4 separate regions of the Homo sapiens genome follow, and all the other regions are linked to region 1. The links are contacts of gene promoters, found by promoter capture Hi-C in human tissues and cell types (Jung and others, 2019). All regions are on one chromosome and are shown on one strand. The core of a region is centred on a gene start or on the middle of the fragment in contact, and the rest is flanking DNA. Distances in the headings are between cores, read along the strand shown.

Region 1 (3,542 bases), core at 1-2,500:
CCCTAGCCAGGAGGCGGACCGTTGATAAACATCCCAACTTTGTCACATACCTAGGAGTTGCTAGTGAGAGGGACCGCGATGTATTAAGTTAGGGAAATTATCGGATCTTACCATCTCCAGTTTCTGACTTAAAAGTCACAAACAGACAAGCAGTGGGCCAGGTAGCACTGAACACCTAAGACCAATAAAGTTAGCTCTCCCAAAGCTAAATCAGAATACGCCGAAAAGCAAGCTAAGGTTAACACCCTCCAGCAGGCAAAGCGGGGCCCCAAACACATTCTATGGTTGGGAAAGGGTCATTACCGTCGGTTGCAGGTCGCTTCCTTATTCCTGCGCATTGCTCCGCTAACCCCGTCTGGCTGTCCGACGGATCAGTCTTTGGGTCCACCAAATGCGTGTCCTCAGAGTTAGCCGGAGCCCCAATTAAAGGCGCCGCCGGGCGGCTCCCGCTGACATCCTGGCTCTCCTGCGCCGGCACCTTGCAGGCACCTTTGGGGGGCCGCGGGGGTCTGTAGTAGAACTCGGGCAAGCTGCCCTTCTCCACCTCTTGCCACTCGTACTTGCCCTCTAGGGGTTTGTGATTCTGAAAATCGAAATTCCACTTGCGCTGGCTCGCCTCTTCCATGTCTCTGCAGTGCTTCTCCAAGTCCCGGGTTAACTCTTCGTGGTCCACCGGGCCGAAGAGGTTCCTGCAGGCCGAGGGCTTGGGGTGCTCCGCCTGCCTGGCGTCCATCCGCTCCAGGCTAGGGCTCCCGTTAGACACTCGCACGTTTGACATCTTTCTCCCGGGTCTGCACGACCGCCTCTCTCGCACTCTCAAAAAAACAAAACCGAACAAAACAAAGCGCCCCTACGCAGCCCGAACCCCTCTCGGAAGCCCAGCGACTGCCCTCGGAGCCAAAAGACACAGACCCCGACGAGCCACGGCCCGAGCTCTAGGAGCGCGCAGGGGCTGCGGGGAAGCCCCGGCCCGGCCGCCGAGTCTCCGCTGATCAAATGGACTGGCGAGCGGGAGGGCGGAGAGGAGAGGGGACCAGGCAAGCGGAGAGGGTGGCAAAGCCCGTCCGAGTCTGGGCGGGTGCAAGCCCGCGGGTCCCGCGAACCCAGCCGCTCTCCAAACCTTGCCGGCGTCGGAGTCGCAGAGCCGTGAGCAAGCGGGGACAGGGGAGGGGGAGAAAAACACCCCGAAAAGACGAGCCCCCTTTTTTTAGTGGCCCAATATGGCGGTGGAAGGGAGGCTGACGAAGAAGAAAATGATTGACACGGCGAGTCTATTTAAACAGAGGAGGAGATCCATTGGTTGCGGCGGCGGGAGCCGCCCCGCCGAGGCTGGCGAGCGCGGCCTTAAGGTGGCCCCGGCGCGGTTCCGCCACCTCCCCTCGTTCCCGAGCGCGCCGCCTCCCCGAGCGCCGCCGGGAGATTGGCTGGTCGCGTGACTGCTGGAGGGGTACTGCTGCCAACAAACCTGCTCTGGCTGGCCTCGGAGAAATTAAAATTAAGACAAACAAACTAGCCAAACGGCCGGGAACCTGGGGCGGGGCCTGAGGTTCGGGGCCCGGCGCTGCGTTGGCGGGTTCGCCGCGGCGCCTAAGCCCCGACCTCCCTCCCGCTCCTCGCCCGGGAAGCCGGGACCTGGACCAGAGGACCGCGAAGGTCGCCGGCAGCTCGCTAGGAGCCGGGGTGGCGAGCTGCCCCCAGCTCGGCCCTCCCCAGCGGCCCCCACCTCGTGGTCTGCGGGGGAGGCCGCGGAGCGTTTGCTGGGGGGGCTGGGCGCCCCCCCGCCGGCGTGCCTTTGCTGGGGGCTGGTGGAGGCAGTGGGCAATGGTTCGCTCAGCCTTAACCCAGAAGTTTCTGCCATCCCTGGGGAGGCTGGGGGCCTAGGGAAGAAGCCAAAGCGAACGTCTTTCTTTTAGAAATTAGCCAGGAGTAGACGCGGCACTTATCATGAACTCAAGCTCTCCCTCAATGAAAATAAGAAAGGAACTCAAGATTAAAAAAAAAAAACAAAAAACTCTAGTCTCTCAAGTCCCTTAATAAACTTTGTAGCTGTCTCAGACACGTTTAGTTTTGAAAAACGAGGGTACACCCCTGGCCCAGGATCTTCCTTCCCAAGCACAGTTAAGGCCATGGACATTGGCTGCGTGTGGGAACTCGTCCCTTTCTACTTTTCTGTTCTTTCCCGGGATTGTAGCAGTTTCCTCTACCTGAGTCCAGCCGCCAAATACAACAGCTCCTTCCTTCCTCCACCCTTCTCTCTCACCAGATTTCACTGCTCCAACAAACTCAGAACAATATTCAGATGCTAGTGAATGCTTTCAGAGGGCTGAAGGGTGAAAATACTCCCCTCGGGGTCAAACTCCAGATGATGAAATGATTTTTAAAACACCACAACCATGTCCTAACGTCCGATACTAGTATTCCAGCGTTTCTCTTCTCCCTTTTGCAGCTGGAAATTTCTCTCTCAGTGTGGGCTTGAGCACCGTGGTGGAAGGTAAAGTAGGACGATGAGCAGGGCTGCCCTGAGACAAAGCTCAGTGGATCTTCAACTGCCTCCCCACCCCCATGCCCGGTACCCATCATCTTGGTTTGAGCCAAAGTTAATGCATTTTACTGGAAACCAACCTTCCGTTCTAATATTACACAGCAGCAAAGTTTTCTTAAGCACCTATGCTACAGATGAGCTTGATGTGTAGCTTGTTTTCTTAGCCACATCTTGTCCACTTTGTGTGCCTACCTCATCTCATACGCTCCAGAATGTGACAGCTGGAAGGGACCCTCGGGACCCTGTGGTTTAACCCTCTCCTTTTTACCACGGAGGAAATCGAGACTCAGAGAGGTTTCCTGTCCAGGGACATGCATTCGGTTGGTACCGGAGTCAGGACTAGATGCAAGTCTCCTAACACTCAGGTTGGTTCATTTTCTGTTCCTTTCCTTCCTAATGGTTCTCACTGGTTCAGGGTTTTGTCTGAGTTTGATTGTGCTGTAGTCTGCAGGTCCTGCTGTCTTACAAGTGACTGAAAATGGCTCCTTCCCAGGCCCTGGGTTGCCTGCAGATGTTTCCTTGATGTGGCCTGTGGTCACTGATATTTAAATGCAGCTGTCTTGAGCCTGTGGTATCACCATCCACTAGTTCAACTAAAATTGAAGGACAGGGGTTGATACCCAGAGAACAGTAAAGGGGGCAGTGCCCAGAACTAGTTTTCAAGTCAGGACTTCCTACCTAACTGACAGAAAAGAATTCACCTAGGATCAAGCAAGAGGTCTCATCCTCTTTAGTTTTTCTACTTTTAAGGCTGTCAATTTATTGGACTGCAGACTGGGGGAAAAGGAACAGGAAAATTAGGGTAGGCCTCCCTACCATAATTTATACCTTACCCTAGAAATTAGATAATTGTCCAAATTTTAAAACAATTGCTAGACAACACAGGAACTCTATATATGTGCATCTATCCATATGCATAAACACCCAAACTACCACATGTATGTAAATGGAGACATTCTAGAGTAGTTCACCTTGCCACAGAAGTTTGATTTTACTCATG
Region 2 (3,639 bases), core at 692-3,191, 560 kb after region 1:
TATATCACTCAAGGTTAGCAAAAGAATTGGAATATTAAAGCTAGGGACTAAAAGGGAGAACTTCTAGAATTTCTGAATCTTCATGCTGTGACCCACCTCCCTCATTGTTTGACAGGCAGAGTTCAACAAAAACCCTCAAGTTTTTTTTTTTTTTTTTAAACGGTGTCTTGCTCTGTCACCCAGGCTGGAGTGCAGTGGTGCAGTCTCGGCTCACTGCAACCCCTGCCTCCCAGGTTCAAGCGATTCTCCTGCTTCAGCCTCCCGAGCAGCTAGGACTACAGGTGCGTGCCACGACGCCCAGCTAATTTTTGTATTTTTAGTAGTGACGGGGTTTCACCATGTTGGCCAGGCCGCTCGAACTCTTGACCTCGTGATCCGCCCGCTTCGTCCTCCCAAAGTGCTGGGATTACAGGCGTGAGCCACCGCGCCCAGCCAAAACCCTTAAGTTTTTAAGTGAAGGGAAAGGCCCATTCAGTATTTTATTAGATGCTTTTTAATACAGATACTTTGCCAGAGTGTTTTAAATCTGCAAGCCATAGTCTTCCTCTACTTTCTTCCATTTGAAAATGATGAATGACATTTTCTGCAATTAGCTGAGTAAGGAAATGTGTGCTTCACGTAAAATGGCTGTTGATTTACTTTAAAAAAAAATTCGTGATTTACTTTAAACAAAATTTTAGGGCCTGACTGAGGCGGAAAAGGCCAACAATGAGTTATTCTTTATTTTCTTCTTCCTAGAATAGTTACTGAAAAGAATACCAGGATAGCCAGAGAGGAAGCTCCCAACCTATAAATCTGAAGAATAATCTTTTCTTCTTCCAGATTGTTTTGGGCTTGTTTCAGATAACTCATGTAAACTTTTTTGTAATATGCGAAAACATGGGGTGTTGGAGTCAGAGTTGGATTCTAATGGTGTTCAGTTAAATTTATTAAGTGAATAAATGAAATAAATAAATTTTGGTTTGCATTGGGTGATGTTCTAAATTTCCTCATCTTGAAAATGGGGGGTGGCTGGGTGCGGTGACTCAGGCCTGTAAATCCCAGCACTTTGGGAGGCTGAGGCACATGGATCACCTGAGGTCACGAGTTTGAGAACAGCCTGGCCAACATGACAAAACCCCGTCTCTACTAAAAATACAAAAATTAGCTGGTCATGGTGGCGCATACCTGTAATCCCAGCTACTCGGGAAACTGAGGCACGAGAATCACTTGAACCTGGGAGGCAGAAGTTGCAGTGAGCCGAGATCATGCCACTGCACTCCAGCCTGGGTGACAGAGTGAGACTCTGTCTCAAAAACATAAAATAGGGGTGATGCCATACTTGCAGGACTGTTGTATTAAGTGACAAAATCTACGGACAAAACGTACTTAGGATAATACTTGATAAGATGTATCTATTATTAGTTTGAATTATGATTTTTAAAAGTGTTATGGGACTCAGTGCTATAATGGTAGTATAATGGTTACATTCATTTATATGGTAGGCATGATGACTTGCCATAATCTTAAGCACCTTTAGAAAATTGACCACTAATTAAGATCTGTAGCATTGTGGTCACAGCTTTTCCACTTGATTACTGATAAATTTTAAAAGTAAAGTCATTCTGCTGTTAGTAGAATAAATTTTTGGTGCATTAGAGTTTTAAAATTTCTCCCCTGAATTGGCAGTAAAACTTGAAGTTGCATTTATTAGAGATTGACATCAAATTTTTCTGTGCTTGCAAGTTATGTGAATTTTAATAGGAAATAGTATGCCTCTTGGCACTTCTGGATCCTCTTGCCCCTGACAAAAACCAAACCAAACCTTCTTTCTGGATAGGGTTTAGACTTATGCCATATGACTTAGTTGTTAATGTTCTTTTGCAGACCATCAGCAGAGCCTTTATGAATGGCAGTGCACTGGAACATGTGGTAGAATTCGGCTTAGATTATCCAGAAGGCATGGCAGTAGACTGGCTTGGGAAGAACTTGTACTGGGCAGACACAGGAACGAATCGAATTGAGGTGTCAAAGTTGGATGGGCAGCACCGACAAGTTTTGGTGTGGAAAGACCTAGATAGTCCCAGAGCTCTCGCGTTGGACCCTGCCGAAGGGTAAACAGCTTTACATGTGCATTCTTTGCAACTGCAGTGTACATTTCGGGGAACATGGCATAGTTACAGATGATATTCTTAATGTTTTAAATAATACGTATTAGGAATCTGAGAACTAAATGATAGATGAACTTTTAAAAACACTATTGATATTTTGCTGATTTGAATGAATAATTATTAGCTAATTTTACTCTTGTCGTAATTAACTTTAGGTGAAGAAAGAGGGGAATGGGTTAATAAATGTTACTGATGAGTATACTGATATGTTAAGTATATATACCAAGAGGTATTATCCATCTGTAGTTGCTTGCACTCCTTCCCAGTTATACTAGATTCCAAGCCTATTGAAGTAAACCCACCGAAACAATGTTGTGAGCTAAGAAAAAACTACATTTAAAAAGCTTTATTTTGGAGTATTTATTAATTCAAAATGGATAGTTTGGTTTGATCATTATTATAAACTGGCAGTAGCTTTGTTATTACAAGATAGAATAAACTGTTCACAACATGATGTTTTTCAAGGGCGAGTGTTCCTTTTTACAAGAGTCAGCAAATTTTTTAAAGCCGGCAGCTAAGAAATCTGAAATCTAAAGAAAAATTCCACTTATAAAAGAAGTCAACAGGCCGGGCGTGGTGGCTCACGCTTGTAATCCCAGCAACTTTGGGAGGCCGAGGCGTGGGCAGATCACAAGGTCAGGAGTTCGAGACCAGCCTGGCCAACATGGTGAAACCCCGTAACTACTAAAGATAAAAAAAAATTAGCCAGGCATGGTGGCATGTGTCTGTAGTCCCAGCTACTCTGGAGGCTAAAGCAGGAAAATTGTTTGAATCTGGGAGGTGGAGGTTGCAGTGAGCCGAGATCGTGCCACTGCACTCCACCCTGGGCAACAGAGCAAGACTCCATCTTGGAAAAAAAAAAAGAAGTAAACAGTGTGAACATATAAATATGTTTACTGTATTTGCTACTTAAAATAATTTCCCTGAAGTGACATTGATTCCATGATTAGCTAGTAATTCATCTAGTCAGCACTGACATATTGTGGTGATCTTTGCTCTAAACATTAGCTGCCAGACAGATAAATTTAATAGTTGGGACTAATTGGTTGCTGCTGGCAAGTATGAAATTTCTCTCACAGTTGTTTCTCTTTGGCTCTTGTGGTGTGCACATGCCTGTCAAATGACAAGTGCAAATGCATATAAAGGCAGGACACCTTCAGTTTTCAGAAAAGCATGTTCATACATTGCTACCAAGTCAGCTATCAGCTGACAGGCTGATGAGTGAATATATGTCCTCAGGTATTTCGTGAGAGCTGGCATGTGATGTGCTTTTTTAGTTCCAGTATTCAAGAGTCTCAAAAACTAGCACCTCACTAGTTTACTTGAAAGGGCATTTGGCCAAGGATTAGGTTCTAGTTCTAGCTCTGTCATCTAACTGGCTTGAAGACATTAGATAAGTTGTTCACATTTCTTGTAGTGTTTTGGGCTCTTCATCTATAAAAAGCCTATACTGTAGGATTACTGTAAGATTAAAGTGCAAAACTCAAAA
Region 3 (3,400 bases), core at 558-3,057, 590 kb after region 1:
ATTAATAAGCTTTGAAAATTGAGAAATGAAACTAAAATATATTAGGCCTTCAGTATATAAAAATAGTCCCTGTTTCCAATGAGCTCTGAATTAGTGGATTTATTAATTACGCTCTAACATATTTTATATTCTTCACTTTCCCTTACTAACTTTTCCCATGGTAAAAACAACCCAGCCAAGTTCTCTAGAATTCTTTAGTGAAAGAGGGAATTTAATGTAAAGAATAAGCCGGGCGTGGTGGCTCACGCCTGTAATCCCAGCACTTTGGGAGGCCGAGGCGGGCGGATCACGAGGTCAGGAGATAGAGACCATCCTGGCTAACACGGTGAAACCCCATCTCTACTAAAAATACAAAAAAATTAGCCGGGCCTGGTGGCAGACGCCTGTAGTCCCAGCTACTTGGGAGGCTGAGGCAGGAGAATGGCGTGAACCTGGGAAGCAGAGCTTGCAGTGAGCCAATATCGCGCCACTGCACTCCAGCCTGGGCGACAGAGCAAGACTCCGTCTCAAAAAAAAAAAAAAAAAAAAAAAAAAAATGTTAGGAAATTTCCTGCTGGATTTTTTTCTCCTACTCTTTTTTCTCTCTCTCAACCAATGGAACTCCAGAGAATAATATTTAAGTTATAGCTAAAAGTCTAATTTGTTTTTCATTTGTGTTCAGAAGGCACCTTTTGATTCTTGCCAGAGTTTGACTTTACATGATATTAAAAATAAGGAAACTATTTATGTTTTTTTTCCAGTGCTTTGTTTAATTGATCAGTTCCGCTGTGCCAATGGTCAGTGCATTGGAAAGCACAAGAAGTGTGATCATAATGTGGATTGCAGTGACAAGTCAGATGAACTGGATTGTTGTAAGTAGGACTGAGATCTATAAATTACTCTTAACAGAGAATTTAAACAATTTTTTTTCTTATGTGTGAGGTTTACTTATCGAGATTTCCTTTCTAAGTAATAAGTATTAATATTAAGCTAATTATTTGTGTGAAGGTTTTTTTATGTTTTGCTTTCAGTAATTCTTTAAACATAGCAGTTTTCTTATGCACAGAAATCTTCACAGAAACATTTAGTAAAGCACTAGAAAAGAGTAAATATTATTTTACTATAACCAAAGTTACAAAATTCTCAAATCATTTAGATACATAGAAATCAGCCGGGCGTGGTGGCTCACACCTGTAATCCCAGCACTTTGGGAGGCCAAGGTGGGCGGATCACTTGAGGTCAGGAGTTCGAGACCAGCCTGGCCAACATGGTGAAACCCTAGCTGTACTAAAAATACAAAAATTAGCCAGGCGTGGTGGTGCATGCCTGTAATCCCAGCTACTGGGAGGCTGAAGCAGGACAATCATTTGAACCCAGGAGGCGGAGGTTGCATTGAGCCGAGATCACACCATTGCACTCTAGCCTAGGCGACAGAGCAAGACTCCGTCTCAAAAAAAAAAAAAAAGAAAAGAATTCAATTGGTCTGAATTCAATTCAGAACTTAAGCAATCCACCCACTTTGGCCTCACAAAGTGCTGGAATTACAGGTCTTCATCTTCAAAATGAAGAGAATGATGCTTAACCTGATGCCTATAAGAAAATTAAATGATTTAACATATATATCATTTAGCCTAAAAAACACATAGCCTGGTTCATAGTAGATACATTGATTATGGAGTATAAGTGCTGTAATAGAAATCTACACAGGTGGCAGTAGAAATGAGAGAGTAGTCAGCTTATTAGGGACAAAGATGGACTTGATCAAGGAAGGCATCTTAGAAAAATGGTATTTAAGATTGGGTGTTGTGCCAGTGCGCTGGCTCACACCTGTAATCCCAGCACTTTGGGAGGCCAATGTGGGCAGATCACGAGGTCAGGAGTTCGAGACCAGCCTGGCCAACATGTGAAACCCCGTCTCTACTAAAAATACAAAAATTAGCTGGGCGTGGTGGCGGGCACCTGTAATCCCAGCTACTCAGGAGGCTGAGGCAAGAGAATCGTTTGAACCCGGGAGGTGGAGGTTGCAGTGAGCCGAGATCGTGCCATTGTACTCCAACCTGGGCGACAGGGCGAGACTCCATCTCAAAAAAAAAGAAAAAAAAGACTGGGTGTTGATCAATGAATAGTGTTCATCATGTAGATAATTGGAGAAATTTCATTTTGGGCAGAGGGAATATACTGTTCAAAAGCAGAAAAGAGTGAAACAGGCACCTCTGGGAAACTCCATGTAATGGGACTGCCAAAATACAGGCTCTGTTGAGGGGTGTCAGCAAGAGATAACATAGGTAAAGGTACAATCATGGAGGACTATGCTTTTCTTCTAAAGAGCCTAGACAATATTAACAATGGGGAGTGGAGAGTCACTGAAAATTTCAAGAAAAAGACTAGCATGGTCAAGCAATACAGAAGTTGTAAAGCCAGTGGGTTGGAGGTGATAAGCTTATAGGCAGGGAAATCTGTTAGATTGATTGCTTTCAAACTTCTGATCGCATCAAGAGGAATACAGAGATGTGAGCTCATGCATTTAAAAAGGTGTCACACAACACTTAAATATTTACCCATGTTATATAGAACACTTTCTGACATTTTCTGTTTTATTTTTTCAAAGCTGGTTGTAACCCACTAAATCATTCTCACCATTTACGAATGACTTGCAGCCTGTAATTTAAAAAGGAAGCGATTAGAGTTTAGGCAGAAGATGATAAAGATCTAAATCATGAGGAGGAGGAGTGGGGGTGGCAGGGAGAGAACAGATTTCGGAGTTGTTTCAGAAGTAGAATAAAGAGGAATTGGTAACCACTTAGCTATAGTTGATAAGTTTAAGTTGACCCACAGGTACCTCACTGAGTGACTGGAGTCATTAAATGGGATATATAGCAGGAACTGAAAACCAAAGTACCATACCACATCTTGGCTGCAGATGTAATGTTTGATTGATGTGATGTTTAATTTACATTAAATGCCTTTAGGCAGGCGTGTACTTTGCCACAAGCCCCATCACTTTTTATTATCTTATACTAGATGACTTTATTTATGGTGTCTTTACCCCTGGAATCTAGGAGAAATGACTGATCATGGTGACAGTGAGTTCAGTTTGTGATATGTTGCCTGAGAGGTACTCATGGAATATCCCACTGAAGCTCTTCAGGAAGTTGATTATAAGGAACTGTGGCTCAGAAGAGAGATTTGGTGCTCATTAGTTTATTGATAATAATGAAAGCTGTGACAGTAGATAGAATCTCCCAGGACAGTAAGAAGAGGAGGAAAATAGTAGGTGATAGATAGAAATCTCTCTGGGAAGCACCTGCACTTAAGATGCAGGCAGAAGAGAATGAAGCCAACAAAGGAAGCAGAGAAAGAATAATCAGAAATAGTAAAATTAAGAGAGTGGTATCTTGGAAGAATATTGATCAGACTTTTT
Region 4 (3,422 bases), core at 152-2,651, 660 kb after region 1:
TACAAAACTTTTCAGATGGTTTCCCACGTATGTGTACTTGAATTGTGCATTGATGGAATGAGGGCCTTGACCTTTCTGGATTGTTTACTTTTCCATCTCCTCTCTTTCCTAGATGTGTGAGTGGGAGCAAATTGTTCAACCTCTCCAGCCCTCAATATTTTGTGAAAAATGCCTCATTCTCTAACTGTTTATGACTCTATGAGTAATTGGTTCATACACACCTGGAGGGATGTCATTTTCCTCTGAATTCTCTCCCTGATTCTGTTTCATCATTTTTCTTTATTCTTTTTTTTTTTTTTGAGATGGAGTCTCGCTCTGTCGCCCAGGCTGGAGTCCAGTGGTGTGATCTCAGGTCACTGCAACCTTTGCCTCCTGGGTTCAAGCGATTCTCCTGCCTCAGCCTCCCGAGTAGCTGGGACTACAGGCACATGCCACCACGCCTGGCTCATTTTGTATTTTTAGTAGAGATGGGGTTTCACCCTGTTGGCCAGGCTGGTCTCGATCTCCTGACCTCATGATCTGCCCGCCTCGGCCTCCCAAAGTGCTGGGATTACAGGTGTGAGCCAACACGCCTGGCCTGTTTCATCATTTTTCATGATTGACTTAGATAATAACAAGTGTGTAGAAGATGTGAGGACGCTGCAGAGAACATAGATAAAAGTTCAGGCCCTGGAGTCAGATAATCCTAGGTATGACTCTTGGGTCAGTCCCTTCCTAATTGGATTTTATTTTTTTTTTTTTTCGAGATGGAGTCTTGCTCTGTTGCCCAGGTTGGAGTGCAGTGGCATGATCTCGGCTCACTGCAACCTCCACCTCCTGGGTTCAAGCAATTCTCCTGCCTCAGCCTCCCAAGTAACTGGGATTACAGGCACCTGCCACCACGCCTGGCTAATTTTTTGTATTTTTAGTAGATATGGGGTTTCTCCATGTTGGCCTGGCTGGTCTCGAACTCCTGACTTCAGGTGATCCACCTGCCTTGGCCTTCCAAAGAGCTGGGATTACAGGCATGAGCTACTGCGCCCAGCCCCTAATTGGATTTTGAGCAAGCTTCTTAACTTCACTAGACTTGGTTTCCTATCCTATTAAGTGAGAATAATAATAATATTTAACTTTGTGTAAAGACTAAATGATTATATAAGGTATTACATTAAACAAACAAATACGTAGCAGGGTGTCTGGCACAAAGTCAGGGCCCCCATAACTGTCAACTGTTTTTGTTTATGTTATTACTAAACCGGGAGAGGTAACATTAGGTAACATATCATGTTTCAAAATTATAGTAGGGTGAAACTATAAGCTAAAACCTAGAATTGTATAGGGTTCAACGTAAAACCCAACATTTAGTTTGAACTGATCAGCCACACGTGAACAGAATGGGAGAGACCTGGCTTAAGAGTGGCTCATGTCAAAGGCATTTAGGGGTTTTTAGGTGATTGTCAGCTCCACTTCAATCATCAGTATGCAGTGGCTTCCAAGGAAGCCAGTGTCGTCTGAGGCTGAGTTAATGAGAATGCAAAAGAAGTTATATTGCCGGCTGGGCATGGTGGCTCACGCCTGTAATCCCAGCACTTTGGGAGGCCAAGGCGGGTACCTGAGGTTGGAAGTTCGAGACCAGCCTAACCAACATGGAGAAACCCCATCTCTACTAAAAATACAAAATTAGCCGGGTGTGGTGGCACATGCCTGTAACCCCAGCTACTCGGGAGGCTGAGGCAGGAGAATTGCTTGAACCCGGGAGGTGGAGGTTGCAGTGAGCTGAGATTGCGCCATTGCACTCCAGCCTGGGCAACAAGAGTGAAACTTCGTCTCAAAAAAAAAAAAAAGAAGAAGAAGAAGTTATAGGGCCATTGTAACCTTGTCCTGGTATAGATTGTGTCCCCTGAGCTGAGTTCAGCCCTGCCCTTGTGTTTTTCGAGGAAGAAAAGCAGGGAGTGAGACTACTTGCCTTCAAATCCCAGCTCTGCTATTAGATTAGCCCTATGGACTTGGGCAAGTTATTTAACCTTTCTGTGCCTCAGCTTTCTAATTTGTAAAATGAGAATAATAAAAATTCTATCTATCTCACAGGGCTGTTATGAGGATTCAGTAGGATGTAAATGTAAATATGTAAGGTGTTTCCAAAGGTGTTTGGCTCACCCACATGCTAGAGAAATGGTGGTGGTGGTGCTGGTGGTACCATCATCATTGTCATTCTAAGGACACTGTCCATGTCCCCAAGGGACCTGATCAGAATGGTGATGGGTGCTGCATCAGTGAAACAAGAATACTGAATTCATGAACCGTCTTGCTCTTCTACTACCCCTGCCCCAAACACACACCTCACTCCCTTGATATGGGCAGGCTTCTCACTTTTAGGCTTTGGCCTAAGTTGGAATGCTCAGACGTATACTCCTTTTGGTCTCTATCACTAAACTTTAGAAATTATCTCGTTCAGGGCTCTTATTTTAGGTATGCTCAAGGTCAGACAGAAGCTAAGAAACCAAGGTCCTGATACAGCAATCCCACTTCTGGGTATTTATCCAAAGGCATTGAAATCAGTATGTTGAAGAGACACCTGAACTCCCATGTTCATTGCAACACGATTTACCATAGCCAAGATATGGAATCAATCTAGGTGTCCATCAACAGATGAATGAATAAAGAAAATGTGGTATATATGCACAATAGAATACTACTCAGCCTTAAACAGGGGTGAAATCCTGTGATTTGGGACAACATGGATGAATCTGGAGGACACTACGCTAAGTGAAATAAGCCAGGCACAGAAAGACAAATATTGCACGATCTCACTCATAGGTAGGATCTGAGAAAGTTGATCTCATAGAAGTAGAGAGTACAATGGTGGTTACCAGGGACTGGGGGTGGAGCGGTGGTTGGGAAAAGGCTACACAGTTTCAGTTAGACAAGAGGAATAAGCTTTACTAATCAATTGCACAGCATGGTAACTATAATAAGTAATAATGCATTGTATATTTCAAAATTGCTAAAAGTAGATCTTAAATGTTTTTACTGCAAAAAATTGGTAAGTTTGTGAGGTGATGGATTTACTAATTAGCCTGATTTAATCATTCCACATTGTAAACCTATATCAAAACATCAAATTGTACTCCATAAACATGTATTATTACTACTTGTTAATGAAAAATAAAAATAAAACGAAAAACAAAGGAAGAAGAAAAAAACCTCAAAAAAGAAAAAGAAAACAAGGTCCTCAGCCGTGTCCTATTTTCTTTGCACTCACCACCCACGTCCTTCTCACATCTGATTGTTGAAGTCTTTCCAACTCCAACTCAATTCCACTTCTTCTTAGAACCTTTCCAGATCCTCCAAGGTAAGCTGGGCTACTCTTTCCCCATGCCTATATGATTGTAAGTTGTGTGTAGCTATTACAGTACTTACGGTCTTTGTTTTAGTGTCCATCA

Evidence for each region. Contacts are between HindIII fragments. The study calls those that stand out against the background at their distance.
Region 2: a contact is called between a fragment that was not itself captured here and the fragment with the promoter of CDKN1B in region 1, in 3 of the 25 tissues and cell types used here (dorsolateral prefrontal cortex, heart right ventricle and liver).
Region 3: a fragment that was not itself captured here is called in contact with the fragment with the promoter of CDKN1B in region 1 in 2 of the 25 tissues and cell types used here (H1 embryonic stem cells and lymphoblastoid cells).
Region 4: a contact is called between a fragment that was not itself captured here and the fragment with the promoter of CDKN1B in region 1, in 3 of the 25 tissues and cell types used here (H1 embryonic stem cells, liver and mesendoderm cells).

Annotation. Positions count from the first base shown.
Region 1 is chr12:12,715,076-12,718,617 of GRCh38, reverse strand. CDKN1B (cyclin dependent kinase inhibitor 1B) reads right to left here and starts at 1,250. Exons shown (of 3, transcript NM_004064.5): 1 at 304-1,250. The coding sequence starts at 778. It also overlaps a transcript of GPR19 not described here. RefSeq lists silencers at 684-872, 1,297-1,866 and enhancers at 1,047-1,146, 1,227-1,276, 3,533-3,542. The HindIII fragment of the contact is 13,879 bases long and covers 1-3,542 here.
Region 2 is chr12:12,160,647-12,164,285 of GRCh38, reverse strand. It overlaps LRP6 (LDL receptor related protein 6), which reads left to right. Exons shown (of 23, transcript NM_002336.3): 9 at 1-13; 10 at 1,867-2,093. Among named protein-coding and RNA genes, the nearest start is that of MIR1244-4, 51 kb to the right of the region's middle. The HindIII fragment of the contact is 4,425 bases long and covers 1-3,639 here.
Region 3 is chr12:12,128,234-12,131,633 of GRCh38, reverse strand. LRP6 (LDL receptor related protein 6) reads left to right here. Exons shown (of 23, transcript NM_002336.3): 19 at 741-851. Among named protein-coding and RNA genes, the nearest start is that of MIR1244-4, 18 kb to the right of the region's middle. RefSeq lists a silencer at 407-607. The HindIII fragment of the contact is 4,393 bases long and covers 1-3,400 here.
Region 4 is chr12:12,051,825-12,055,246 of GRCh38, reverse strand. It overlaps a transcript of BCL2L14 not described here. Among named protein-coding and RNA genes, the nearest start is that of BCL2L14, 17 kb to the left of the region's middle. The HindIII fragment of the contact is 6,182 bases long and covers 1-3,422 here.